4 separate regions of the Homo sapiens genome follow, and regions 1, 3 and 4 are each linked to region 2. Evidence: promoter capture Hi-C in human tissues and cell types (Jung and others, 2019). All regions are on one chromosome and are shown on one strand. The core of a region is centred on a gene start or on the middle of the fragment in contact, and the rest is flanking DNA. Distances in the headings are between cores, read along the strand shown. Region 1 overlaps SPRYD7 (SPRY domain containing 7). Region 2 holds the start of EBPL (EBP like). Region 3 overlaps CAB39L (calcium binding protein 39 like). Region 4 has its middle 38 kb from the start of SPRYD7.

The links. The method cuts DNA at HindIII sites, captures the fragments that hold promoters and counts their contacts. A contact is called where the count stands out against the background at its distance.
Region 1: a contact is called between a fragment that was not itself captured here and the fragment with the promoter of EBPL in region 2, in 4 of the 25 tissues and cell types used here (IMR-90 fibroblasts, aorta, bladder and 1 more).
Region 3: a fragment that was not itself captured here is called in contact with the fragment with the promoter of EBPL in region 2 in 1 of the 25 tissues and cell types used here (bladder).
Region 4: a fragment that was not itself captured here is called in contact with the fragment with the promoter of EBPL in region 2 in 2 of the 25 tissues and cell types used here (bladder and mesenchymal stem cells).

Annotation. Positions count from the first base shown.
Region 1 is chr13:49,919,291-49,926,043 of GRCh38, reverse strand. It overlaps SPRYD7 (SPRY domain containing 7), which reads left to right. Exons shown (of 5, transcript NM_020456.4): 4 at 4,464-4,566. Among named protein-coding and RNA genes, the nearest start is that of SPRYD7, 14 kb to the left of the region's middle. The HindIII fragment of the contact is 5,717 bases long and covers 1,100-6,753 here.
Region 2 is chr13:49,687,207-49,693,950 of GRCh38, reverse strand. It overlaps EBPL (EBP like), which reads left to right and starts at 2,465. Exons shown (of 4, transcript NM_032565.5): 1 at 2,465-2,697. The coding sequence starts at 2,527. RefSeq lists silencers at 2,340-2,539, 2,570-2,709 and an enhancer at 2,173-3,170. The HindIII fragment of the contact is 15,697 bases long and covers 1-6,744 here.
Region 3 is chr13:49,434,686-49,441,884 of GRCh38, reverse strand. All of the region lies in intron 1 of CAB39L (calcium binding protein 39 like), which reads left to right. Among named protein-coding and RNA genes, the nearest start is that of CAB39L, 5.8 kb to the left of the region's middle. The HindIII fragment of the contact is 6,619 bases long and covers 1,617-7,199 here.
Region 4 is chr13:49,894,315-49,901,561 of GRCh38, reverse strand. No RefSeq gene overlaps it. Among named protein-coding and RNA genes, the nearest start is that of SPRYD7, 38 kb to the left of the region's middle. The HindIII fragment of the contact is 7,505 bases long and covers 1-5,667 here.

The DNA of each region.
Region 1 (6,753 bases), core at 2,709-5,208, 230 kb before region 2:
ATAAGTAGAATGGATTATAAGACAGGAAAAGCATTCTCATGTGTTTAGAATTTAAGTCATGTACCATTCTCTGAGGAGAAATCAAGAAAAATAAGCTGTGAACATCTAACCAAATGATTATATGATTATATTCATATGATAATCACCCAGTACAGCACGGCCTGCTACAGAACTAGAAAGACATACATGAAACAGTTTATGCTCACTTTCTCCTTTTTTTTTTTTTTGTTTTCAGATGGCCACTCGCTCTGTCACCCAGGCTGGAGTGCAGTGGCGCTATCTTGGCTCACTGCAAGCTACACCTCCTGGGTTCACGCCATACTCCTGCCTCAGCCTCCTGAGTAGCTGGGACTACAGGCGCCCGCCACCACGACTGGCTAATTTTTTTCATTTTTTACTAGAGACGGGTTTTCACTGTGTTAGCCAGGATGGTCTCCAACTCCTGACCTCATGATCTGCCCACCTCGGCCTCCCAAAGTGCTGGGATTACAGGCGTGAGCCACCGTGCCCGGCCTACTTTCTCCTTATACATATAATTCTGAAAAGTACAAATTTCATTCTAACATGCATGTATCAGTTTACTTTTAGAGAAGTCTTATAAACATTCTATGTAATAATAACAATAACAAACACTTCTAAGCATTTATTTATTGAGATGGAGTCTCACTCTGTTGCCCAGGCTGGATTGCAGTGGTGCCATCTCGGCTCACTGCAACCTCCACCTCCTGGATTCAAGCGATTCTCCCGTCTCAGCCTCTCTAGTAGCTGGGACTACAAGTGCGTGCCACCACGCCTGGCTAATTTTTGTATTTTTTAGTAGAGACGGGGTTTCACCATATTGGACAGGCTGGTCTCGAACTCCTGACCTCGTGATCCACCCACCTTGGCCTCCCAAAGTGATGGGATTACAGGCATGAGCCACCGTGCCCAGACCTAAGCATTTATTATGGGCACTGCTCTAAGTGCCTGGCAAGGATTAAATTGTTTAATGCTCATAATGGCCCTTTGAAATAGGTATTATTATTATTATTATTATTATTATTATTATTTATTTATTTTTTTTTTTTGAGATGGAGTTTTGCTCTTGTTGCCCAGGCTGAAGTGCAATGATGCAGTCTCGGCTTACTGCAACCTTCACCTCCCGGGTTCAAGCGGTTCTCCTGCCTCAGCCTCCTGAGTAGCTACAATTACAGGTGCCTGCCACCATTCCCAGCTAATTTTTTTGTGTTTTTAGTAGAGACAGGGTTTCACCATTTTGGCCAGGCTGGTCTGGAACTCCTGACCTCAAGTGATCTACCCACCTCGGCCTCCCAAAGTGCTGAGATTACAGGTGTGAGCCACCACGCCCGTACGGTAGTAGTATTATTATCCCCATTTTACAGATTAAGAGAAATTAAGTAACTTCTTATGTGAGTTAATTACAAGACTATATAGCTCAGCCAGATACTATGGCTCATGCCTGTAATCCTAGCACTTTGAGAGGCCAAGGCAGAAGGATCCCTTGAGCTCAGGAATTTGAGACCAGCCTGGGAAACATAGTGAGACCCCATCTCTACAAACAAACAAACAAATAAATAAATAAATAAAATTTAAAAAGAAAATTAGCCGGGCATAGTGGCATGCCCCTGTAGTTCTAGCTACTTGGAAGGCTGAGGTGGGAGAACTGCTTCAGCCTGGGAGATAAAGGCGGCAGTGAGCCGTGATCCTGCCGCTGCACTCCACCCAACCTGGGCCACACAGAGCAAGACCTTGTCTCTGGCCGGGTGCGGTGGCTCACGCCTGTAATCCCAGCACTTTGGGAGGCCGAGGTGGGCAGATCACCTGAGGTCAGGAGTTCGAGACCAGCCTGACCAACATGGAGAAACCCCGTCTCTACTAAAAAAAATACAAAAAATTAGCCAGGCGTAGTGGTGCATGCCTGTAATCCCAGCTACTCGGGAGGCTGAGGCAGGAGAATCACTTGAACCTGGGAGGCGGAGGTTGCAGTGAGCCGAGATTGCGCCATTGCACTCCAGCCTAGGCGACAAGAACGAAACTCTGCCTCAAAAAAAAAAAAAAAGACCTTGTCTCAAAAACAAAAACAAAAACCAAGATCATACCTGAAGCAGTCTAATTTCAGAATCTGTTCACTAACCTGCACACAATTATTAATAAAGACATAGAACACACAGTATATTTTGCTATCATTTTGGCAGAATCAAACCCAGTTTCTTCATCATAGAATAGATTAGGTTAGAAAACACTTGAACTGGCCCATCACAGTGGCACATGCCTGTAATCCCTGCACTTCGGGAGGCTGAGGCGGGCGTATCACACTGAGCCAAGGTCGCGCCACTGCGCTCCAGCCTGGGCGACAGAGTGAGACCCAGTCTCAAAAAAAAAAAGAAAGAAAATACTTGAACTAAACTATACTGAGGGTGGGACTTCTCACATCTTTCCTCACTTCTTTGGTACTGGGATTTTGCTACTGCAGGCTTGGGTTTAAAACTTGCTTGTTTGAGGCTGGGCGCGGTGGCCAACGCCTGTAATCTCCGCATTTTGGGAGACCGAGGCGGGCAGATCATTTGAGGTCAGGAGTTCAAGACCAGCCTGGCCAACATGGTGAAACCCCATCTCTACTAAAAATGCAAAAATTAGCCAGGCATGGTGGCGGGCGCCTGTAATCCCAGCTACTGGGGAGGCTAAGGCAGGAGAATCTCCTGAACCTGGGAAGTGGAGGTTGCAGTGAGCCAAGATCATGCCATTGCACTACAGCCTGGGTGACAGAACGAGACTCTGTCTCAAAAAAAAAACAAAAAACAAACTTGTTTGTTTGCAATCGGCCACTGGGGGATGAAAGTGCCTGGATTACAACCTCACTGATCTGAACTGCTAGATTTCTGGTAGTCCCATAATGAGAGTAACATACTTTCTTTTTTATGTAATTAAGTTTTTGTTTTTTAAAATGAAAACAGACTTTTTCATTAGAAAAGTGAATCCCAGCCATCAGCTAGCTTTATTACTATTATCTAAAGACATAAACTAAAGCGAAGCAAAGGCAATCTATGTACTATTTATCTTTCTCAGTATTCCTTAATTATTAATAATTGTTTAAGTTAACCCTGGCTTTGCTAAGAATTGAGAATCTTTCATACCACTTACCACATTAGCTTCTCTGGGCTTTTGCTGTCTTGCTTGTAAAGAGAGAGAATTTAAGACTAAGATGATCTATAAAATTTTTTTTTTTTACCTCTAAAAAGCTTTTAACTTGATAGAATGTATCCACAGTCAGAAATCCTGAAATCCTTGAAGTGGTTTGCTTCTTGGTCTATGATGACTTCTCTATTGAAAGATCTCTGCTGTCTTTCAAGGGAAAGATCTCTTTTTGTTATCAGTTAGTAGCTATTGTATAAAGTTTTAAAGAGAGATATGGTGATTAAGAGCAAGTGTTTAAAGAGAGGCATGGTGATTTAGAGAGAGGTATTGTGATTAAGAGCAAGGATTCTGAAACCATACTGTATGGATTTAAATCACAGCTTTTCCACTTCCTAGCTGTGCAACCTTAGGTAAATTACTTAATCTTTCTGTGCTTTAGCTTCATCTGTAAAATGGGGATAGTAATACTGTCTTGTTGTGAGGATTAAATGAGTAAATATGAACTGCCTAGAATAGTAGCACTATTGGTTTATAACATGGGCTAAGTCTTTTCTAGCCTTTTATTTATTTATATAAATAATTTATATTTATACAAATAAATATTTTATTTATATAATTATAAAATAATTATTTTAACAATAATTATTAATATCACTAATTGTGATTTTTTTCCATCAATAGTGTACCGAGTAATTTTATTACATTGTTTTTTAAATCATTTGAGCTACTATTTTTGTTTTTTAACTTGAAACTAATTACCAATTTTATTCAGTTGTGAACACCAGCTTTTCCTTGATAATACACTTGACACATTTGAAACCAGAGTAAAGAGATGTAGAAATGTGTTATTTCTTCCTGGAAATAAAATGTATAGAGACGTTTCTTCATAATTTGAAAACAGTGACAGGTAGTAAGTCCTGACAGTGAAAAAAACCTCATTGTTTTTCCTTCTTTAGATCAAATTCTGTAGAGAAAGAGCAGCGTTTTCTGTATGAGTGTAAAAGGTTTCTCTATTCATGGTATGTAGTACTTATATTATCTTAGCATTCAAAATATAAAATCCAGATTATACAAATATAATTCTAGGATTTAAACTGTTGGCTTTGTTTTACCTCTAATGTGGACTCTTGGGATGTTACCTGACTTTATCCCCCCTCATAATCACTACTCATTTTTTTAGCTCAGTTCAAGTAGGATTCTACCAAATTGTCAACCCTTAATGAAAATTGTTGTCAGCCTATGCTTAGCTTTTTGTGTTTCCATACTTCCCAGTCAATGCTTTCTGACGGCTCAGCTTTTATGGAACGTTTCTGTTTTTTCCTTCCTAGGGTATTACTTATGACCATGTCGAATTAAATGTATACTTGAATGGAAAAAACATGCATTGTCCAGCATCAGGTATACGAGGGACAGTGTATCCAGTTGTTTATGGTAAGCAAAAATATTTCTAATGTATTATTACATACATATTAACTTGTTTGGTGTGTGTATCAGTCTGTTTTCATGCTGCTATAAAGACATACCCAAGACTTGGTAATTTATAAAGGAAAGAGGTTTAATTGACTCACAGTTCCACAGAGCTGGGGAGGCCTCAGGAAACTTACAATCATGGCGGAAGGGGAAGCAAACACATCCTTCTTCACATGGCAATAGGAAGGAGAAGATTGAGCGAAGTTGGGGAAAGCCCCTTATGAAACCATCAGATCTTGTGAAAACTCACTCACTTTTACAAGAACAGCATGAGTGTAACCACCCCCATGATTCAATTACCTCCCACTGGGTCCCTCCACAACACATGGGGATAATGGGAACTATAATTCAAGACGAGATTTGGGTGGGGACACAGCCAAACCATATCAGCGTGTATGTTACTTTTATAGCTATCATCTAGAAATCTGGACACATTGTTAATAAGGACCTTTTTATTTTATTTATTTATTTATTGTTTGAAACGGAGTGTCACTCTGTCACCCAGGCTGGAGTGCAGTGACACGATCTCAGCTCACTGCAGCCTCCGCCTCCTGGGTTCAAGCGATTCTCCTGCCTCAGCCTCCCGAGTAACTGGGATTACAGGTGCCTGCCACCACGCCTGGCTACTTTTTGTATTTTTAGTAGAGATGGGGTTTCACCATGTTGGCCAGGCTGGTCTTAAACTCCTGACCTCAGATGATCCACCCACCTCAACCTCCCAAAGTGCTGGGATTACAGGTATAAGTCACCGTGCCCAGCCATAAGGACCTTTTTATATGGATTGTAGTCGGTAGGATATTACAATCCCACTTTGCAGGATTAAGGATAGTTTCTGTTCCCCATGTATTAAAATAAACTTGCTAAATACAATGATTACACTTAAATATGCAATAACCGTACTCCCTTTTTCAACATGTAGTTTTATGTTTTAGAAAGTTTCAAAAAGCTTTACTGAATTTAGAAAACTTTTTCTGCAAGTCATTGGGAATGATTGCATGGCCAGGAAACATAATTATAAATAATATTTTGGAATTAGAGATGGGAATTTTATGTAGACTGTACATTAATAACCCTTACAAAATTCCTTAAATGTTAATGCTCTTCTGAGGGAAATAGTGACTTAGAATTTTAATTTTAACTTTAATTTTTTGTTTTTTTGTTTTGTTTTGTTTTGTTTTGTTTTGTTTTGCGACAGAGTCTTGCTGTGTCCCCCAGGCTGGAGTGCAGTGGCCCGATCACAGCTCACTGCAGCCTCAAACTCCTGGGTTCAAGCAATCCTCCCACCTCAGCCACCCCAGTAGCTGGGACTACAAGTGTGCACCACTATTGGGATTACAGGCATGAACCACTGCATCCGGCCTACCTTAATTTTTATTATAGAAAATTCCAAACATGTACAGAAGTAAAAAGAATAGTATAATAAACCCTCATATACCCATCAGCCAGCTTCAAACAATTATCAACTTGTAACCAATCGGGTTTCATCTACACCCCCCCACCCCCAATGCTGCTATTGTTCTTCACTTACCCTCCTTGGGTTATTTTGAGGCAAATGCCAGGTAATATATAATTTTATTCATAAATGTTTTATTTGTATCTCGAAAAAAAGGTCTCTTTCTTTTTTTTTTTTTAGAAAAACATAACCACAATGTCTTTATCAATCCATTCTGCTTTATTTTTTATACTATCAACTTTTTTTTTTTTTTTTTTTTGAGACAGAGTCTCACTCTGTCACCCAGACTGGAGTGCAGTGTTGTGATCTTGGCTCACTGCTGCCTCCGCCTCCTGGGTTCAAGATATTCTCGTGCCTCAGCCTCCAGAGTAGCTGGGATTACAGGTGTGTATCACCACACCCAGCTAACTTTTGGGGTTTTTTTGTATTGTTTTGTTTTTTTTGAGACAGAGTCTCATTCCATCGCCAGACTGGAGTGCAGTGGCACGATCTTGGCTCACTGAAACCTCCGCCTCCCAGGTTCAAGCGATTCTCCTGCCTCAGCCTCCCGAGTAGATGGGACTACAAGCACGCACCACCACACCCAGCTAATTTTTGTATTTTTAGTAGAGATGGGGTTTCACCATGTTGGCCAGGATGGTCTTGATCTCTTGACCTTCTGTTCTGCCCGCCTCGGCCTTCCAAAGTGCTGGGAT
Region 2 (6,744 bases), core at 1,216-3,715:
GCATTCACTAGGCATTTGTAGTGGAAGATGCACTTGCAAAGGAAACAGAATGGCTAAGGAGGCTGTATTCTCAGAAAACCAAAGGAAAAATATTTCAGTGCTGGGATGCTGCTGAGAAGTAAACTACACTAAGAAAATGAACTGTTCTTGGGGTTCAGTGATGTGGAGGCCAGTAGTCACCTTAGTGAGAGCTATATCAGTGTGATAAGGCAGAAACCAGAGTAGAAAGGACTGAGGAGCAGGGTCAAGACATGAAGACAGGGGATCTGATCAGTTTTTTCATTAAGTTTCTATTTTGCTCTGAAGGGGAGGTGGGCCGAGTGGTCCCTAAAGGATGATAAGTTAGTTACAGGACAGGATCCAGAGCATAGGTGGCTAGATTGACCATACTCAGTCGCCAGTTATTTAACTGAGCAGCTAATATATGCCAAACTCTGTAATAGGTGCCAGGGATACAGCAATAAAAAAGCTAGCCACAACCCCTGGCCTTGAAGACTTACATTATAGTGGCAGGAGATTAGCAATAAGTGTGTAAACAAGGATCATTCTATCTGGTGTTAACTGCTATAAAAAATGGTATAGGAAGTGACTAAGGGAAAAATTTCTTGTGTTCAGTGCCAGCATTTTTTTTAATAACTGTAAAATACACATAAAATTTGCCATCTTAACCATTTTTAAGTGTGCAGCTCAGTAAAGTATGTTCACGTTGTTGTGCAACCAATCTCCAGAACATCATCTTGCAAATCAAACTATCCGAATAAATAACACTCCACTTTTCCCCGCGCCCCCCCCCCACTCCCGCCCCGCCCCACCCCTGGTAACCATCATTCTATTTTGTTTCTGCAAATTGATTATTTTAGATATTTCCTGTAAGTGGAATCATAAGTATGTTTTTGTGACTGGCTTATTTCACCGACCTCATAGGGTTGTTGTGATGTTAAATAATGTAGGTTTGTTCCCGGACCAAACTGGGGGTTGGGCAGCCCAATAATGAGGTGCAGATGAACTGGGGAAGAAGAGTTTTTATTTCTGCAACCGGTTACAGGGAGAAGGTCTGGAAATTATTGCCAGACCAACTCATAATTACAAAGTTTTTCCAGAGCGTATATACCTTCTAAGCTATATGTCTACGTGTAAGAGTGCATTCATCTAAAGACGTAAGTGATTAACAACTTCTAATCCTGAAGACCTTCCTCTGGAGCCTCAGTAAATTTACTTAATCTAAATAGGTCTGGGTGCTGGGATGATTACCCTTATTTTGTCTCTTGCTAAATCATGGAGGCTTGTGGAATTCCTCCAGACTCCCAATAAACTTGTTTTTGGAGGCCTGGGGAGTTTCTTCAGACCCCCAATAAAACTTGTTTAATCCTAAACGGGTCCTGTTAAAAATTCCTTAGTTATCTTGTCATGCTTCAAGGCCCAAGAAAGGCCTAGGCAAAACTCTTGGTGGGCTTTTGTTACATTCCAGACTTTGGTATATGGGCACTGACTCTTTCAGCTTTTAATTTTTTTTTTGTTTTTTGAGACGGAGTCTCGCTCTGTTGCCCAGGCTGGAGTGCAGTGGCGCGATCTCGGCTCACTGCAAGCTCCGCCTCCCGGGTTCACGCCATTCTCCTGCCTCAGCCTCCGGAGTAGCTGGGACTACAGGCGCCCGTCACCACGCCCGGCTAATTTTTTGTATTTTTAGTAGAGACGTGGTTTCGCCGTGTTAGCCAGGATGGTCTCGATTTCCTGACCTCGTGATCCGCCCGCCTTGGCAAAAAGTGCTGGGATTACAGGCGTGAGCCACCGCGCCCGGCCTCAGCTTTTAATATTTAATTTAACCACTCAGTGCTGAAGCAGTTGTGATGGAGGCCTGCGATAGTGAAACCTGGCCTGCCACAGGTTAAACGCATCTATCGCCAAGCCAATAGGACTTACCGCTCCTCTCACCCACCCTTCTACTTTTCTGGATTTTTAAGAAATGGAAAGATTGTCAGAGTAGGCCATAAAGGCTTTAAGCCGGCTGGTGGCTGAAAACTCCCTTGGCCCCCAGCCTCCCTGGTAAGGCTTGCTGCAGCCTAATTAAAACCTTTTGCCCCTAAAATTCTGCCCCGGTCTACTGGCAAAATTTCCACTACCTAGGCTTCACTTTGTGGCTTAAAGTTTGAGCCTTGTTAAAAGCGAAACAACATCAAAAGGTGTGGCCCTATTACCAATCCTTTGGGCTCGGTTTGGGAACAGGTTTGGTCGAGGCGGTTGCGCAAGTTGGTGAGCACGTTCCTTCTACGGAACCTCCATGGGCGGCACCTGGCAAAACCACCGGACTCAGCAGGCTGGCCAGGGTGCGAGGCGGGCACGGAATCCTCGCTCTGGCCCCGACCCGGCCGGGGAGCCCCGTCCCTCCCCGGACCGCCTTGGCCAATCAGCTCCGCTCCTCCTTGGCCATCCGGCTCCGCCCCTTCCCGGCCAGCCCCGCCCCGTCGTTTCTCTCCCTGCTTTCCTCTGCCGCATGGTCCTGGGCCGTTGGCGTCGGAAGCCTGAAGCATGGGCGCTGAGTGGGAGCTGGGGGCCGAGGCTGGCGGTTCGCTGCTGCTGTGCGCCGCGCTGCTGGCGGCGGGCTGCGCCCTGGGCCTGCGCCTGGGCCGCGGGCAGGGGGCGGCGGACCGCGGGGCGCTCATCTGGCTCTGCTACGACGCGCTGGTGCACTTCGCGCTGGTAAGTGCCATCGCCTAGACCCTGCACTCCCCATCCCAGAGAGTGGGAGCGGGGGCGGCAAGGCGGGGTGAGGGGGTCCTGCGGCTTTTTGCAGCGAGCTGGCCGCCCCTCCCCCTGCTGCAGGAAGTCTGTTAGCTGAGAGGCGCCTGGAGGCCGCGGCGGCCGGAGTTCTGATTCCCAGGTCTGTGAACAGAGCGCAGCTTACCTTGTGCTGCCGATTCCTCCACCAAACTTTAAAAAAATTCTGTACGTGCTATGTTAGTTTAGAAGATACCTCAGCTTCCTCGGCTTTGTAACCTGCACGTAACTGTTGAACTGGACATAATTGAGAGTAGAATTGAGGTCATTTTTAAATGCCCCAGAGGGGGCAAGGAGAGATGCTTGCTCCGGAGGCAGCAAGGCTATTGTCGCAAAACCCGAAGCCTTTGCCAAGACAAACGAAACACCCGTGTCTAATGTGTGCCAGGCGCATTACTGAGTTTAAAATTTCAGATCTTTACAGCATCCATAAATTAGTTATTATTGTTCCCCATTTTACAGAGGTGAAGGTAGGCGCTGCAAAATTAGGTGACTTTCCAGTGCCACACAGCTGGCATGATTCTGAGGCAGTCTAGTCTGGCTCCCAAGTTTGCACTCTGTGTATCAGTCGAGGTCTTAGGAAATATGTGTCCTTAGAGATTCAACCCATTTTATAAAATAGCCAGGAAGGTTGTGTTTAAGGCATTTATATTGAAATGCCCCGCCCCCCACCACACACGCGCACGCACACACACACACACACTTTTAAGTTTTTTTTAAACTATGCCCAAGTATCAGTTTGTTTTTTTTTTTTTTTGTAAAGTTGACCTTGTTTAACTCTAGACACACCTGTGGCTAATGTGAAGCCAAAGTCAGTAGTATTGAGAAAGCAAGCCGAGTTTTGGGTAATCATCGAGTTCTGTAAATGTTTACGGGTTGGCTTTGTGCCCATGACTGATGTTGCTGGAATTCTTTTTATTCTGATAATCAACATGTAGAGATAAGGGACAGTGAATGTTTCTCTCAACTCCTTTATTTATAGAATTCTTTTTTTTTTTTTTTGTCTTTTTTTTTGTTGTTGTTCTTGAGACAGAGTCTAACACTGTTGCCCAGGCTGGAGTGTAGTGGCACTATCTCGGCTCACTGCAACCTCCGCCCCTTGGGTTAAAGCTATTCTCCTGCCTCAGCCTCCCGAGTAGCTGGGATTACGGGCGCCCGTCACCACGCCCAGCTAATTTTTGTGTTTTTAGTAGAGATGAGGTTTCACTATGTTGGCCAGACTGGTCTCAAACCCCTAACATCAGATGATCTGCCCACCTTGGCCTCCCAAAGTGCTGGGATGACAGGCGTGAGCCACCGCCACCGCCACCAGCCGAGAATTGATTTTTAAGCTATCACTTGAACACAAGGTTTCCCACAGAACAAGGGAGATAAAGCAGATTGCTAGGCCCGGTTAGAAAAAATGTATAACAAAATGTATAACATAACAAAAATGTTGCTAGGCCCAGTGAGAGAAAACTGTGTAACATATTGGCTGGGTATAACTGTATATAGCATATCAGAATGTATATATATAAAAATGTATAACATATCGGACACAGTGGCTCATGCCTGTAATCCCAGCATTTTGGGAGGCTGAGGCGGGTGGATCACGAGGTCAGGAGTTCAAGACCAGCCTGGCCAACATGGTGAAACCCCGTCTGTACTAAATATACAAAAATTAGCCAGGTGTGGTGACGGTGCCCATAATCTCAGCTACCCGGGTGGCTGAGGCAGGAGAATTGCTTGAACCTGGAAGGTGGAGGTTGTAGTGAGCCATGATCAAGCCACTGCACTCCAGCCTGGGCAACAGAGCAAGACTCTATCTTGGGAAAAAAAAGAAAAATGTTTAACATACCTTAGACAAACAAAAAGCTGTAAAAATACTTAAACTATATGCGTGTGTTCACCACTTGGTTTAAGACTGTTTACTTTTCAAGCTCAGGTTGTTACAGGTAACACGACACACACCTCCTTTTGTGCCATTACCTACCCCAGCTGCAAAGTAGTCCACTGTGTGAATACACCATACCTTAGTTCTCCAAGTCTAAGACCCACATTTTTTCACATATTAGAAGAATCAACTACATCATGTAACTACTGTAGGCCATTTGATTGATATTTTAATGTCTCTAAATTGGGATGTATCTTATATTTGATGAATACGATCACTTAACCAGCCCATATTAGTGGACACATTTTTCTGTCATTACAAACAATGCATCTACCAACGTCTTTGTACATGTGTCTCAGAGATCAGTGGGGAGAGCACTTGAATTAAGCAGTTGAGGCTGCAAGAAAATACATGCCCATGTTGTCTTTGCTTGGGAGTTTATTGCAAGAATACCCAGAAGTGTGGGACAAGCTAAGACTAAGATGTAGAGCTTAGGGGAGAACCAAAATTAAAACTCACTTGTTCACTAGAAGATGAGTTGCCTCTCCTTAACCCGACACTTCTTTTTTTTTTTTTTTTTTTTTGAGACGGAGTCTCGCTCTATTACCCAGACTGGAGTGCAGTGGCGCAATCTCGGCTCGCTGCAAGCTCCGCCTCTCGGGTTCACGCCATTCTCCTGCCTCAGCCTCCTGAGTAGCTGGGACTACAGGCACCCGCCACCACGCCCGGCTAATTTTTTGTATTTTTTGTAGAGACGGGGTTTCACCATATTAGCCAGGATGGTCTCGATCTCCTGACCTCGTGATCTACCTGCCTCGGCCTTCCAAAGTGCTGGGATTACAGGCGTGAGCCACTGCGCCTGGCCACCCCCTGACACTTCTTAAAGAGAGGAGCTCTGTAGGTTTTTTGGCTGCCATCAAATTGAAAGCTATCCTGTTGGACAGTTTCAAGCCAAGCATTCCCAGGGGCAGTTCATTTCCCAGATGTCCAACCAGAGTGCAGTCACCTTGGGCCCCAGCACTGGTCATCAGTTCAGCTCGTTATGACTACAGCAGAGGGCAGGCTGACTTCCCATCAGCCTACCTGGAAGGAGCCATGGCAACATACTAGAAGAAGGAAATGGTGGGGTCACCATTCTGAGGTCGCTGTGGGCAGCCTAGGCACTGGTGCTTCATGGATAAAATTTTATCTCTTCTGCAATCTATGTATAGCATTCAGGCATGGCCAGAAACATGAGGCAAGATATGAATGCCTGTGTATGGAACACATCCTGTAGTCCAGATTGACAGGAGCACAGGGTTTACATAAGAAGTGGGAGGACCAGCTGGAAAGGTGACAGGTAAGAATTGTATTCTGTAGTGAGAAGCCACTGAAGGATTTCAAGCAGGGAAGTCACGTGGCCAAAGCAGATCTTCATAAAGATAATTTAGTGGTGATGTGTTAAGTCAGAAACTCTAGCGTCCGAGATTTTACCCAACTTAGAAGTTAACAAGGTAGTCCAGTTTGATTCCCCAAGGCCCAAACCCCACAGGACAACATAATGAAGGCCAGATGTTACTGCCTGTACATGCAGTGGGATGCGTTACAAGAAAGGAACTCCAGAACTACGCGTCCATCTTATTGTGAGCTGGTGGTGGCCTGTCCATACTTCTCTCTGGAGAGACCTTATCTTAGGAATGTAAACCTCTGAGGAGGAGAAGGTGAGGTCTTGATCTTTACCACCCTAGAACCTCTCTGGAGGGAGCTGTCTCCCAGGTTTACTACTCTGGAAAGGCTCATTATAGAAACATTCTTAAAATTGATATAAATGTCTTTGCTCAGAGACCCAGACAGTGCAGGATGTGAGATATTCATGGAGAATTGTCTCTCAACATGGTGCAGGTTGGATTGGAAAGGATGGAGTTGAGGGGCAAGAAGAGCAACAAAAAGCAACTGCTGTAGTGTGGGGAGTCATTTAAAAAAAAGAGAGAGGCAAGCTGAGGTGGTGTTGGAACTTAAAATGGGGAGGAAAGCTAACTGTGAGAGACTTTCCAGGGGAGAATGTGGTAAGTCAAAGTGGCCACTTGTAGATTGGGGGTGGACATGATCTTGGGGCT
Region 3 (7,199 bases), core at 3,677-6,176, 250 kb after region 2:
AATTTACCACCAAGATAAGAGAGTTCCAGTAGTTTTTCATCCTTGTCAGCACTTGGCATTATCAGTTAAAATATTTAGCCTTTATATGAGGTATGATGGGGTATCTCATTGTGGTTTTAATTTCCCCTTTGATGATTGTATGCTTCTCTGATGAAAAGTGAAATGAAAACCTATATTGGCTGCTCTGCAAATATTTATAGCGATTTTATTTGTAATGGCCAAAACTGGAAACAACCAGATTCCACTAGGAAATAGATTTTTTTAAACTCCAGCATGTCCATACAGTGTAACATAGGAACCTCCTTTTTATTTTCTTTAGAGATGGGATCTCGCTATGTTGCCCAGGCTGGAATACAGTGGCATGATCACAGCTTACTGCAGCCTTGACCCCCCAGGCTCAAGTGAACCTCCCTCCTCAGCCTCAAGAGTAGCTGGGACTATAGATATGTGCCACCATGCCTGGCTAATTTTTTGGAGAGATGGCATCTTGCTATGTTGCCCAGGCTGGTCTCAAACTCCTGGACTCCAGTGATCCTCCTGCTTTGGCTTCCCGAAGTGCTAGCATTATAGGCATAAGCCACTGTACCTAGCCGGGAACCTCCTTTTAGTATATAGTTATATAAATATATGGGAAAAGGGAATATATATATATATATATATATACACTAAATCATTATAAGAAAATCATCAAAATAAGCCATAAAACATTGCACGAGATTATGAAAACATACCCCAAAAATGTGGCCACAAAGCAGATGAAAATGACAATCTAAATATTTCAGAGTAAGCTAAGAGAATTTAAGGAAAAGATGAAATCTTTGAAAGAACCACATAAATTCAGAAATAAGAGCTCAGACATGAGATACGTAGGAAGTTCTAGCCAGAGCAATCAGGCAAGAGAAACAAAAGGCATCCACATAGGAAAAGAAGTCAGACTATCTCTCTTGGCTGATGATCTGATTGTATACCTAGAAAACCCTAAAGACTCCACCAAAGGCTCTTGGAACTGATAACTTCAGTAAGTTTCAGGATACAAACTCTGTACAAAAATCAGTAGCGTTTCTATACCAATAATGTTGGAGCAGAGAGCCAAATCAAGAATGCAGTCCTGTTTACGATAGCCATACACACACACACACACACACACACACACACACACACACACACACTGCCTAGGAATACCTCTAACCAAGGAAGTGAAAGATCTCTACAAGAACTACAAGACACTGCTGAAAGAAATCATTGATGACACAAACAAATGGAAAAACACTCCATGCTCATGGATTGGAAGAATCAATATCATTAGAATCGCCATACTGCCCAAAACAAGCTACACATTCAGTGCTACTGAATGTGTAGCTTGTTTCAAATTATACTTTGAGGCTACAGTAACCAAAAAAGCATGGTACTGGTACAAAAACAGACATATAGGCCAATGGAGCAGAATAGAGAGCCCAGAAATTAAGCTGTACACCCACAGCCATCTGGTCAACAAAATTGACAAAAGGAAGCAATGGAGAAAGAACTTCCTATTCAATAAATGGTGCTGGGATAACTGGCTAGCCATGTGTATAAGACTGGGCTTCTACCTTACACCACATACAAAACTGGACTTCTACCTTACACCACATACAAAAATCAATTCAAGATGGATTAAAGATTTAAATGTAAGAACTCAAACAGTAAGAATCCTAGGAAAAAATCTAGGAAACATTCTGGACATCAGCCTTGGGAAAGAATTTATGACTAAGTCTTCAAAAGCAATTGCAACAAAAACAAAAGTTGACAAGTAGGACCTAATTAAACTAAAGAGCTTCTGCACAGTAAGAGAAACTATTAACAGAGCAAACAGATAACCTGCAGAATAGGAGAAAATATTTGCAAACTATGCATCTGACAAAGGTCTAATATCCAGAATCTATAAGGAAGTTAATTCAACAAGCAAAAAAAAAAAAAAAAAAAACCCATTAAAAAGTGGTCAAAAGACATCAACAGACACTTCTCAAAAGAACAAGTGGCCAATAAACAGATGAAAAAATGTTCCACATCACTAATCATCAGAGAAATGCAAATCAAAACCATAATGAGACATCATCTCACGCCAGTCAGAATGGCTCTTACTAAAAAGTCAAAAAACAACAGATGTGGGCAAGGCTGCAGAGTAAAGGGAACACTTACACACGGTTGGTGGGAGTGTAAATTAGTTCAGCCACTGTGGAAATCAGTTTGAAGGTTTCTCAAAAAACTCAGAACTACCATTTGACCAGCAATCCCATTATTGGGTGTATATCCAAAAGAAATTGTTCTACCAAAAAGATACATGCACTCATATGTTCATCATAGTGCTAGTCACAATAGCAAAGATGTGGAATCAACCTATGTGTCCATCAGGGATAGATTGGTTACATATGAACCGTGGAATACTATGCAGGGAAGGAATGCAATAAGTGTTGAAAAACTAACTGTTGAGTATAATGCCCAGTACCTGGATGACAGGATCTGTCATACTCCAGACTTCAGCGTTACACAGTATACCCATGTAACAAATCTGCACATGTACCCCCAAATCTAAAAGAGAACTTGAAATTATAAAAAAGTAAATAAAATTCACCTCTTTCTATGTTTTCAGGGGAAAAAAAGAAATGAGATGGCTAGACCATAGAAGGAGGTGCAATGAGAGCAGACAAAACTCAATAAAAGATTAAGAAAAAGACAGTTTAAAGTGATGATTGCATTAGAAACCAAGAGTGAATATACATCACAGAAAGTACGATAAGAAAAATGGAAAAATGAAGAAAATAAAAAGATTTTTAAAAAGGAGTCAAGAGGTGACAAGACAGGCAAAGAGAGCCAGAATAAATATAAATGGAGTTCCCCAAATGTAAGCCCAAGGATAGTGGTGATGTTTATGTAACACTGAATATACTTAATGCCACTTATTGAATACTTTAAAACAGTAAATTTTATGTTCCTTATTTTACTACAGTAAAACAAAGCAAGCCAAAGCAATGGACCAGAACAACTATTAGGACTGTAATTCAAGAACGCTTAACATTAAAGTAGGTTTAAATGTAACATATGTTGAAAGGCATACTGTAAACCTGGAGAAATCAACCCACAACAGTTAACACTGAGATGTGGTCCTGTAAAATTGTTGGATTTTTAAAAATAAACCCTTCTTGCATTGATGGGGGAAATAAAAAGAGCAGGTCACTTGCAAAGAAAATCAGATTGGATTTTTGGTGGCAACATTTTATGTCAGATATTAAGAAAGTATTTATTCAAAGAAATAAAATAATTCCTATCTCACCAAACTACCCTTCAAGAATTCAGGGCATTGACAAACATTTATAAACATGAAATAATTCAAGGAAAATGGCTATAATTGTTCCCATGAATCCTTCTGAAGCGTATACTAGAGAACAAATTTCAGACAACCAAGAAATGATTGGAAAATCTTCAACATAAGGTCAGGTGGTGAGCAAATCAAATATATTTTGTGTGTAGCATCAAGATTAAAAGATGAGGATAATGATGATAGAATAGTATATAAATATTACATGGTCTGACATTGTAGAAATAATATAACCCGCAAAAAAATGGGAGGAAAAGAGGAGGGTGAATGAGAAGTAGAATAAGGTTGTTTGCCTTTTAGGCATTAGCTGGGAGAAAAAAGCCCTTGAAGCTGACAGGTGGAAGCTTAAACATACTCAGAAGTGCAAGATAGAACACTAATAAAAATAATACCAGCTGGACACGGTGGCTAATGCCTGTAATCCCAGCACTTTGCGGGGCTGAGGCAGGAAGATTGCTTGAGCCCAGAAGTTTGAGACCAGCCATCCTGGGCAACATGGCGAAAGCTTGTCTCTTAAAAAAAATAAAAAATAAAAAAATTAACTGGGCGTAGTGGCACACACCTGTAGTCCCAGGTACTTAGGAAGCTGAGAGAGGTCGGAGGATCTCTTGAACGCAGGAGGTCAAGGCTACAGTGAGCTGTGATTGCGCCACTGCACTCCAGCCTGGGCAACAGAGTGAGACCCTGTGTCAAAATAATATTAAATAATAACCAGCAATTTGCAGGGAAGCTTAAATTTCGCTTCTGAAGGTTTGATAACTGAGTTGGCTGAACTAAACTAACAGTAGGTTAACAAGAGAAAACCCATACAAATTTATTGATATGTAAGCATACATTAATAGCTAGCAAAATGTCTATGGGCATGCAGGGAAATCAACACTGCAGTCTAGCAGAATCCATGGAGAAGTGGCAAGCAAGGTGGAGACTGTAAAAAAAGAGGAGAGGTTGCAGGACCTAGGGGTAGCAGAATACAGATAATTCCCAGAAAGAGAAAGCCCCACCCTGGATAGAGAAGTGAGAAGAGGTGTAAGATCCATTAGACAAAATAAGAGACTTGAAAGAAAATGAGACCAAAGACGCAGTCTCATGAAAGTACTGCTTCTGGGGAAAGGAAAGAGGGTGCCTTGGAAGGGTCACCATCTACCTGGAGGCTTGGTGATAGAGAGAAGGGGTAGTAGAAATTAAGGATCTTGGTGAACCAGAATAGAAAATAGATACTCATTTCTCCCACCCAAAAAGGAGTCATTAATTAAAAACAAACAAACAAAAAAACACTTTATTAGGTACTATTTACTAAGAAATCCAGTTAAGTCATCTAAATTCCTTGCTTCTGCCTATACACAACTATATCTGGTTTAGGAAAAATAAAATATTTCAAGATGAACAGAAGATGGCAGGCAACATCCATATAAAGTTACTTTAGCTGGAAAACAAAATGATAGTCAAAACATTTCAACTGGGCTGGGCACAGTGGCTCACAGCTGTAATCCCAGCCCTTTGAGAGGCCAAGGTGGGCGGATCACTTGAGCCCAGGAGTTCGAGCCCAGCCTGGGCACTATAGTGAGACCTAGTCTCTACAAAAAATAAGGAAAAAAGTTTTTAAAAAATTTTAGCTGATGAAAAGTCTTCCCGAAACATCCAACTATAGCACTAAAGAAAACTACAGCACAGTACTCCTACCAGAATTTAAAATATCCTTAAACTAACATTTGTAGAGATAAAAAGTCTCAAATCCAAATTCAAAACTGCAAAACAAATGGACAAAAAGAGGAAGATATGAAAAGTGAATTTACTGAACTCAGGAAATAAAATAAATCAAAAGAAAAATCAGCTTTTAAAATGAAGTTAAAGCCAGATGCAGTGGTGCATGCCTGTAGTTCCAGCTATTTGAGAGGCTTGAGCCCAGGAGTTTGAGGCCAGCCTGGGCAATATAGAGAGACTCCTGTCTCAAAAAAAAAAAAAAAAAAAAAAAAAAAGTCATAAAGAAAGAAATGAAGCTAAATTCCAAGGTACATAAGAAAAGATTGGACTGAATATAAGGAGCATTGAGAAAAGGTATGAAAACAACCAAGATAATGAAAATTAAATGAAGAAAGGTTAAAAAGTAATAGAAAGTGATTGATATAGAAAATAAGTAAAAGTAGAGTTCCTAAGAAGAAAAAAACAATAGCAAAGCTAATAGTTAAGTTTCAATCCATGAAAACATTCTGGAAATAAGAGATGACTCCAATCTACATGTTGAAAAGGCTCATTGTGTACTGGGAAAATTGATCCAGAATGGTCAGTTCCAAGTCATGTCCTAGTAAAACAGTTGGACTTTCAAAATGATGAAGAAAAATTCCTCTGGGCTTCCAGACAGAAAGGAGAGGTTAGCAACAGACTTCTAAACAGCAACATACAAAGCAAAACAGCCATGGAACAACATGTTTAAAGTCTACGAAAGTATAAGCCAAAGATTTTATAACTATGACTCATTCTTAAAGAAAAACCATGATAAATCCTACTATATTAATAAAAAAGTATTTAAATAGTGAAAAATGCCACGAGCAAAGTCAAAAGGCAAGCGACAAAGCGGGGAAAAATATTTGGACTTATATCACAAAGAGCTAACCTCCTGGATGAAAACACCTTCGTAAAATTCCAGGCAAGTAAGACCATCAACCCAGTAGGAAAATGGGCCAAAGATATGAAAAAGAAATGCACATGACAGACATATAAAAGATGTTCCAGACTGGGCGTGGTGGCTCACACCTATAACCCTAGCACTTTGGGAGGCCAAGGTGGGCAGATCGCTTGAGGTCAGGAGTTTGAGACCATCCTGGCCAACATGGTGAAACCCCACCTCTACTAAATATACAAAAATTAGCTGGGTGTAATGGTGAGCACCTATAATCCCAGCTACTGGGGAGGCTGAGGGAGGAGAATTGCTTGAACCTGGGAGGCGGAGGCTGCAGTGAGCCCAGATCATGCCGCTGCACTCCAGCCTGGGCAACACAGCAAGACTTCATCTCAAAAATAAAAGATGTTCCACCTTCAGTCATACAAAGAAAAATATAAATTAAAGCTATGTTAAAGCATTTTTCAACAAAATCCAAAAGTTATACAATAGGCCCTGTAGACTGTGGGGAAATAGGCACTTTGATACATTGCTGGTAAGGATACATAAGCATAAACTGCATGGGAGGGAATAGTCAAAGGGAGGTTAGTCATAGCAGCATATTACTTGCATTTGCAAAAGATTGGAAATAACTAAAATGCCCATTAATAGAGAACTGATTGCATAAACTAAGGTGCATCCAGACAGTACAACAGTCTGCAGGTAGATTGTGCCCCTTCCAAGTCACCGTCTTTCCATAGAGGTCATAAAAAAGAAGGGAGAAAGTCTCTATATACCAATAGAGAATGATCTGTAGAATACAATAGGAAGTGGAAAAAACAAAGGCATGGAAAAGTATGCAATGTATCCGCAGAAGGAAGGAGCAGGGTAAAGGTGCCAACAACAGAAGAGAGATTTCTCTAAATGGAAGTTGTTTCTATAGTTTTAACCCTAAATCATCATGTATGTCTACATATTCAAAAGTGGGATTAAATAAAAAAGTAGAATGAAAGAAAAATCTGAAAAGGAAATGAAACAAGTTTACACATCTATATCGCATTTTGGTGACATAACCACACACAAAAAGGAACAAATTCTAGTGGCTCTAGAACATAGATTTTGAAATGTACTTTCTTGGTGGGATATATTCAGTAGTAGTAGTAGTATTGATGTGCTGCTATTTTGAAGGCATTAAGTGTTGCAAAATGTTTTTATTTTTTATTTTTTTTAATTTTATTTTTGTAGAGA
Region 4 (7,247 bases), core at 666-3,165, 210 kb before region 2:
TGCTACCATCCCCCGAAGTCCTCCAGCAAGGCCAGACCCCTGGACACCTTCTTTTACATCTACCAATACATCCTTCAGAGCCATTCCCCTTGTACCCCTCCATCCACCACCATCTCACAGCCTGGTCCTCCCCCTTGCCCAGACTTAGCTATTACTGGAATGCGACCCCCACTCGCATCCTGGCCCTGCACATCCCCTTTCAGGTTTTTGCTCCTTTTTCCTCCTCTCACCAACTAAGACAAGGGCTGTCCCATAAATAACTCTGTGTCCCTGCCTGACCCACATGGTAGAATCTCAACAAAGGTTTCATCTCTTCCCCTGAAGCCCCATGGACAGAGATGCTGCAATTGGCTTTATGAAATGATACTTTGTGTTCATGCTTTTCCACCCTTAAAAAGATCATGACCTCCATCTCATTTTCATCTCAACATGCGCAAACCACAAGGAGTGCTTTTAGCAATATCTTTTAGGTATTACGAATAATATCACAGGATGTACACACAGGGTATACACACACACTGTGATAAAAGGAGTAATATCTCCCATAGATATTAGCAATAATATCACAGGGTGTACACCCACTGTGATATTAGCAGTAATATCCCCCTTGGATATTATGAATAATATCACTGGGTGTACCCACACTGTGATATTAGGAGTAATATCAATCTTGGATATTAAGAATAAGATCACAGGGTATAAATGCACTGTGATATTAGGAGTAACATCTCCCTTGGATATTTTGAAAATATCACAGGGTGTACAACCACTGTGATATTAGTCCTAATATCTCCCTTGGATATTATGAATAATATCACAGGGTGTACACCCACTGTGACATTACGAATAATATCTAACTTGAATATTCCTAAAAATATTAAAGGGTGTACACCTACTATGACATTAGGAGTAATATCTCCCTTGGATATTGCGAATAATATCACAGGGTGTACACCCACTGTGACATTAGAAGTTGTATCTCCCTTAGATATTACGAATAATATCACAGACTGTCCACCCACTGTGACATTAAAAGAAATATCACACTTAGGCCGGGCACAGTGGCTCACACCTTAATCCCAGCACTTTGGGGGGCCAAGGCAGGCGGATCACGAAGTTGGGAGATTGAGACCATCCTAGCTAACACGGTGAAACCCTGTCTCTACTAAAAATACAAAAAAATTAGCCAGGCGTGGTGGCAGGCACCTGTAGTCCCAGCTACTCGGGAGGCTGAGGCAGGAGAATGGCATGAACCTGGGAGGCGGAGATTGCAGTGAGCTGAGATCACACCACTGCACACCAGCCTGGGTGACAGAGTGAGACTCAGTCTCAAAAAAAAAAAAAAAAAAGAAACATCATAGGGTGTACATCGTAGGGTGTACACCCACTGTGATGCTAGAGTAATATTTCCCTTGTATATTATAAAAAATATCACAGGGTGTACAGCCACTGTGAAATTAGGAGTAATAGCTCCCTTAGCTACTATGAATAATATCACAGAGTATACACCCACTGTGATATTAGGAGTAATGTCTACTTCTAGGTATTATAAATAATATCTTTTAGATATTACAAATAGTATCACAGGGTGTACACCTACCGTGGTATTAAAAGCAATGTCTTCTTCTAGGTATTACAAATAATATCTTCTTTTAGATATTACAAATAGTATCGCAGTGTGTACACTCACCGTGGTATTAGGAGCAATATCTTCTTTTAGATATTATGAATCATATCACAGAGTGTACACCCACAGTGATAATAGGAGTAATATCTTCTTTTAGATATTATGAATAATATCACAGGGTGTACACCCACTGTGATATTAGGAGTAGTATCATCTCCCTTAGATATTATGAATAATATCACTGGTATACACCCACTGTGATATTAGGAGTAAAATCTTTTAGATATTACGAATAATATATCACAGGGTGTATGCACAGGAGGGGCTCACCACCACACCTAACAAGTAAAAAAAACAATTTTGTAGTTGGTACATGTTAGCTCACGCCTGCAATCCCAGCCCTTTGGGAGGCCAAGTGGTGTGGATCAATTGAGGTCAGGAGTTCGAGACCAGCCGGGCCAACATGGTGAAACCCTGTCTCTACTAAAAATACAAAATGTGGGCTGGGCGCATTGGCCCACGCCTGTAATTCCAGCGCTTTGGGAGGCCGAGGGGAGTGGATCTCGAGGTCAGGAGTTCAAGACCAGCCTGATCAACATGGTGAAACCCCGTCTCTACTAAAAAGTTAGCTGGGTGTGGTGGCGCATGCCTGTAATCCCAGCTACTCAAGAGGCCGAGGCAGAAGCATCGCTTGAACCCAGGAGGCGGAGGTTGCAGTGAGCCAAGCTCATGCCACTGCACTCTAGCTTGGGTGACAGAGCCAGACTCTGTCTCAAAAAAAAAAAAAACATACAAAAATACAAAAAGCCAGGCATTGTGGCGGGCACCTGTAATCCCAGCTACTTGTGAGTGTGAGGCTGGAGAATCACTTGAATCCGGGGGTGGAGTTTGCGGTGAGCCGAGATCACGCCGTTGCACTCCAGCCTGGGCAACAAGAGTGAAAGTCCATCTCAAAAAAAAAAAAAAAAGATTATAGAGTGTGTGTCTCCCTATGTTGCTGCTCAGTCTATTCTCCAACTCCTGGGCTCAAGCGATCCTCCTGCCTCAGCCTTCCAAAGTGTTGGGATATAGGTGTGAGCCGCTTCAGCTGGCTAATATGTTATAAGAACATTATAATCTTACTTAAAGGTATGAAGTTTTAAACTTCATATAATCTTTTTTTTTTTTTTTTGAGATGGAGTTTTGCTCTTGTTACCCAGGCTGGAGTGCAATGTGCAATCTTGGCTCACTGCAACCTCCTCCTCCAGGGTTCAAGTGATTCTCCTGCCTCAGCCTCCAGAGTAGCTGGGAATACAGGTATGGGTCACCACGCCCGGCTAATTTTGTATTTTTAGAGACGAGGTTTCTCCATGTTCGTCAGGCTGGTCTCCAACTCCCAACCTCAGGTGATCCACCTGCCTCGGCCTCCAACATGCTGGGATTACAGGTGTGAGCCACCACACCTAGCCCACATACTCTTAAGTATGGTTTTATTTGGTTGTTTCTGAATAGTTCTCGAGATTTTCATTAAATTTATATCCAATAGGATTTCTGTTTTTCTACAATAGAATACCTCTCTCATTTGGTGTTGGAATCCAGCAAACTAAATAAACCATAGTAACACCAGTGTTTCTGGATTCTTCCACGTCCATCTGTCTGTAAAAACACAATCCTCTGTTGACATTTATTGAGTCCCCACTCTCAGCTGTGCACAGCAAAGAGTTTATTAACAAAAAGAGAAGGCGGCTGGGTGCAGAAGCCTGTAATCCCCCGACTCTGGGAGGCCAAGGCGGGAGGATTGCTTCAGCCCAGAGGTTTGAGTCCAGCCTGGGCAACAGGGAAAAACCTTGTCTCTACAAAAAATTAGTCGAGCATTGTGGTGTGCACCTGTAGTACCAGCTACTCCGGAGGCTGAAGTGAGAGGATAACTTGAGCCCCAGAGGCAGAGATGAGGTAAGATTGCATCACTGCACTCTAGCCTGGGCAACATAGCCAGGCTCTGTCATAAGTAAGTAAATAAATAAATAAATAAATAAATAAATAAATAAATAACTGCATGTGGCTCTTGTTCTTCAAATGCTCGCATTTGTGATGTGTTAGGGTGGGACAGACTGCTTCAGAAATCTTAATAATTTTCTCAGCCTCTGCTCTGGGTAAAGACCAAGCCCCTGAGAATGCATTGAAGGGAAGCTTGTCATCCAGATACTTCATAAGGAAACAGAAAACCTCAAGAAAGCTTCCCTCAATCAGTACCACTGTTCATTTTCCTCCCTGATTCATAGGCTGGATGGATGGGAACCAGATCATCACTGGACCATCCGTGTGAACAGCACAGGAACTGAGACTGGAAATGAAGGTTGTTGGTCTCCAGGGAAGAGGGACAGAGGCTTCAGCATCTTTACAGTCTCTGCTGTTTCCTAAAAAAAAAAAAAACCCTTTTCAGGACAAACAGCTATTTCATGCTCTGTTCCACTGTCTGTCCATTATTAAGGCAGTAGGTCTTTGGCTTCATCTCATTCAGGGAAATAAATGTTTATACTGATGGCTCAGAATGCAGTGGTCTAGAATGAAGAAGAATGTGGCACTGTTACTAAAGGTAAAACTGCAGATGTACCACTAGAAGATAGCTCTAAAACGTTGTGGTCTTTTAAGCCAGGCATAGTGGCATGCACCTGTGGTCCCAGCTACTTGAGAGGCTGAGGCTGGAGGATGGCTTGAACCCAGGAGTTTGAGGCTTAGTGAGCTATGATCATGCCTGTGAATAGCCACCGCACTCCAGCACAGGCAACATAGCAAGACCCTGTTTCTAAATAAATAATTAAAATTTTAATAATTGTGGTCTTCTTAGTTGGTTCTAGTGGCTGAGCCACCCATTTCTCCCCCAGGTTACTCTAGTGGCCTCCTCACTAGAGGTCTGGCACCAAATCTGGCCCCTCTGAGTGAATAAGTGAATGTTTGATGTGTCTCTTAAGACTTCAACTCAGTCTGTTGACTATAATAGGTATTAAGTGCAACCTAGTTAAGAAAAGCAAATATGCACCAGGCGCAGTGGCTCATGTCTGTAATCCCAGCATTTTTGGAGGCCCAGGGGGGTGGATCACCTGAAGTCAGGAGTTTGAGACCAGCCTAGCCAACATGGTGGAACCCCTTCTCTACTAAAACTACAAAAATTAGCCAGGTGTGGTGGTGAGCACCTACCCAGCTACTCGGGAGGCTGAGGCAGGAGAATTGCCTCCGGGAGGCGGAGGTGGCAGTGAGCCGAGATTGCACCATTGCACATCAGCCTGGGCGACAAGAGAGAAACTCAAAAAAAAAAAAAAAAGAAAAGAAAAGAAAAGCAAATATGATTCTGATCATTGCCAGACAGAAACATTTTATTTTATTTTACATGTTTTTCTTTTATTAATCAGCTTTCTCAGGTTGAAGGAAACATTTTCATGAATTTGTTTCCATCGATCTGACCACCAGCTTTTTTTTTTTTTTTTTTTTTTGAGATGGAATTTCACCTTGTCACCCAGGCTGGAGTGCAGTGATGAGATCTAGGATCACTGCAACCTCCACCTTCTGGGTTCAGGCAATTCTCCTGCCTCAGCCTCCCGAGGAGCTGGTATTACATACACCCAACACCACGCCTAGCTAATTTTTGTATTTTTAGTAGACGTGGGGTTTCACCATGCTGACCAGGCTGTTCTCGAACTCCTGACCTCAGGTGATCCACCCACCTTGACCTTCCACAGTGCTGAGATTACAGACATGGGCCACCACTCCTGGCCGACCACTAGCTTTTGCTGAGCCTCTACTTCATTCTGTTCTGTTTGCGTCAGGCACCAGACAGCCCTTGGTATGTAGGTAACTTGGTAAGACATGATGTTCTTTGCCTCTGAGGAGCTTACAGAGTGATCAGGACAAGAGATCTGTGAAGAGATCATTACAGTGTGACTCTACAAAGAAAGTGTAATGGGAACATAGCAGAGGGAACAATTACCTGTTCTTTCTTGGGATGGGGGAGGAATAGAACCAGTTTTTCAGAGATAAACAGGATAGTCTCAACCTAAAGAGACGCACATTCCAGGCAGAGGAAGCAATGTGCACAAGCACAGGCCTGGCCAGGGAACAGTGAGCGGTAGGCAGGGGCAGGGGTGAAAGGAGGCTGGGACCCACAGTGGAGGGTCTCATATGTAGGCTAAGGAAGTAATCCTTTATCCTCTAGGAACCAAAGGAGAGTTTTACATAGGCAGATTTAGTAACTCCAGCGGAAGGGTAGGCAATGGTTTGGAGTAGGGAGAGAGCAGAGACAAGAAAACAAATAGGAGGCTGTGGCCAAGGTCCAGGAGATGTTGAGAATCTGAGACAATGTCTTAAATCTTGTGAAGTGCGCCAGGCATGATGACTCAAGCCTCTAATCCCAGCAGTTTGGGAGGCTGAGGTGGGAGGATGTCTTGAGCCCAGGAGTTTGAGACTAGCCTGGACAACGTGGTGAGACCCTGTATCTATAACAACAACAAAAAATTAAACATTAAAAATTAGCCAGGTGTTGTGGACTGTGCCTGTCATTCCAGCTACTGGGGAGGCTGAGGCAGGAGGACTGCTTGAGTCCAGGATGTCAAGGCTGCAGTGAGCAATGATTGTCCCACTGCACTCCAGTCTGGGCAACAGAGCAAAATCCGGTCTCAAAAAAAAAAAAAATCTTGTGAAGTAAAGAGGAAATAACCAGGGCCTTATCAATTCACTGAAAGGGAGATTTATTTCTCTGTAGCTTTCAAGAACACTCTTAGTATTAATGAAGAGGGTTTTTACAAAGGGAAAAAAAGGCCGGGTGTGGTGGCTCCCCCTGTAATCCCCTGTAATCCCAGCACTTTGGGAGGCCAAGGTGGCCAGATCACTTGAGGTCAGGAGTTCGAGACCAGCCTGGCCAACACAGTGAAACCCTGTCTTTACTAAAAATACACAAATTAGCTGGGTGTGGTGGCACACACCTGTAATCCTAGCTACTCAGGAGGTCGAGGCAGGAGAATCGCTTGAACTCCAGAGGTGGAGGTTTCAGGAGCCAAGATCGCAGCTCCACTGCACTCCAGCATGGGTGACAGAATGAGAATCCGTCTCCAAAAAAAGGGCGGAGGGGAACCCTGAGATTCATTAATTCTCATTTCCCTAGTTTATGAAGTGCATTTACTTTCTCTAATGGCTGTCAAAGTGAAGGCTGAACTTTGAGCTAGATCTTAGTGCTCAGGATATCAGGAAAAGGAATAATTATTCTTAGATGCTGCGTCAGAGACTGCTTGTTATCTTTCAATATCTGTTCTGTTTTACTCTTCTTTAGTAATGCAATTTTTTGTTTTTAGCTGACCACGTGGTTATAGGGAATAATGATATTTTTCAGCCTCACTTGCAGCTAGATATACTATGTTATTTATTTCTTCTGGCCCACAGGATGTGAGCAGATGTGATATGTGTAATTTCCAGGAACTATCTTTAAAGGGTTGGATGTGTACTTTCTTCCTAGCTTCCATCTTCTTATGACCAAAATGAGAAGGTAATGGCTACAGCCTCAGCAGCCACTTGAACAACGGAGTGATCTACAGAATGGATGCTAGGCACAGCAAACAATGAAATAGAAGGTTTCTTGGTCCCTTTCATAATA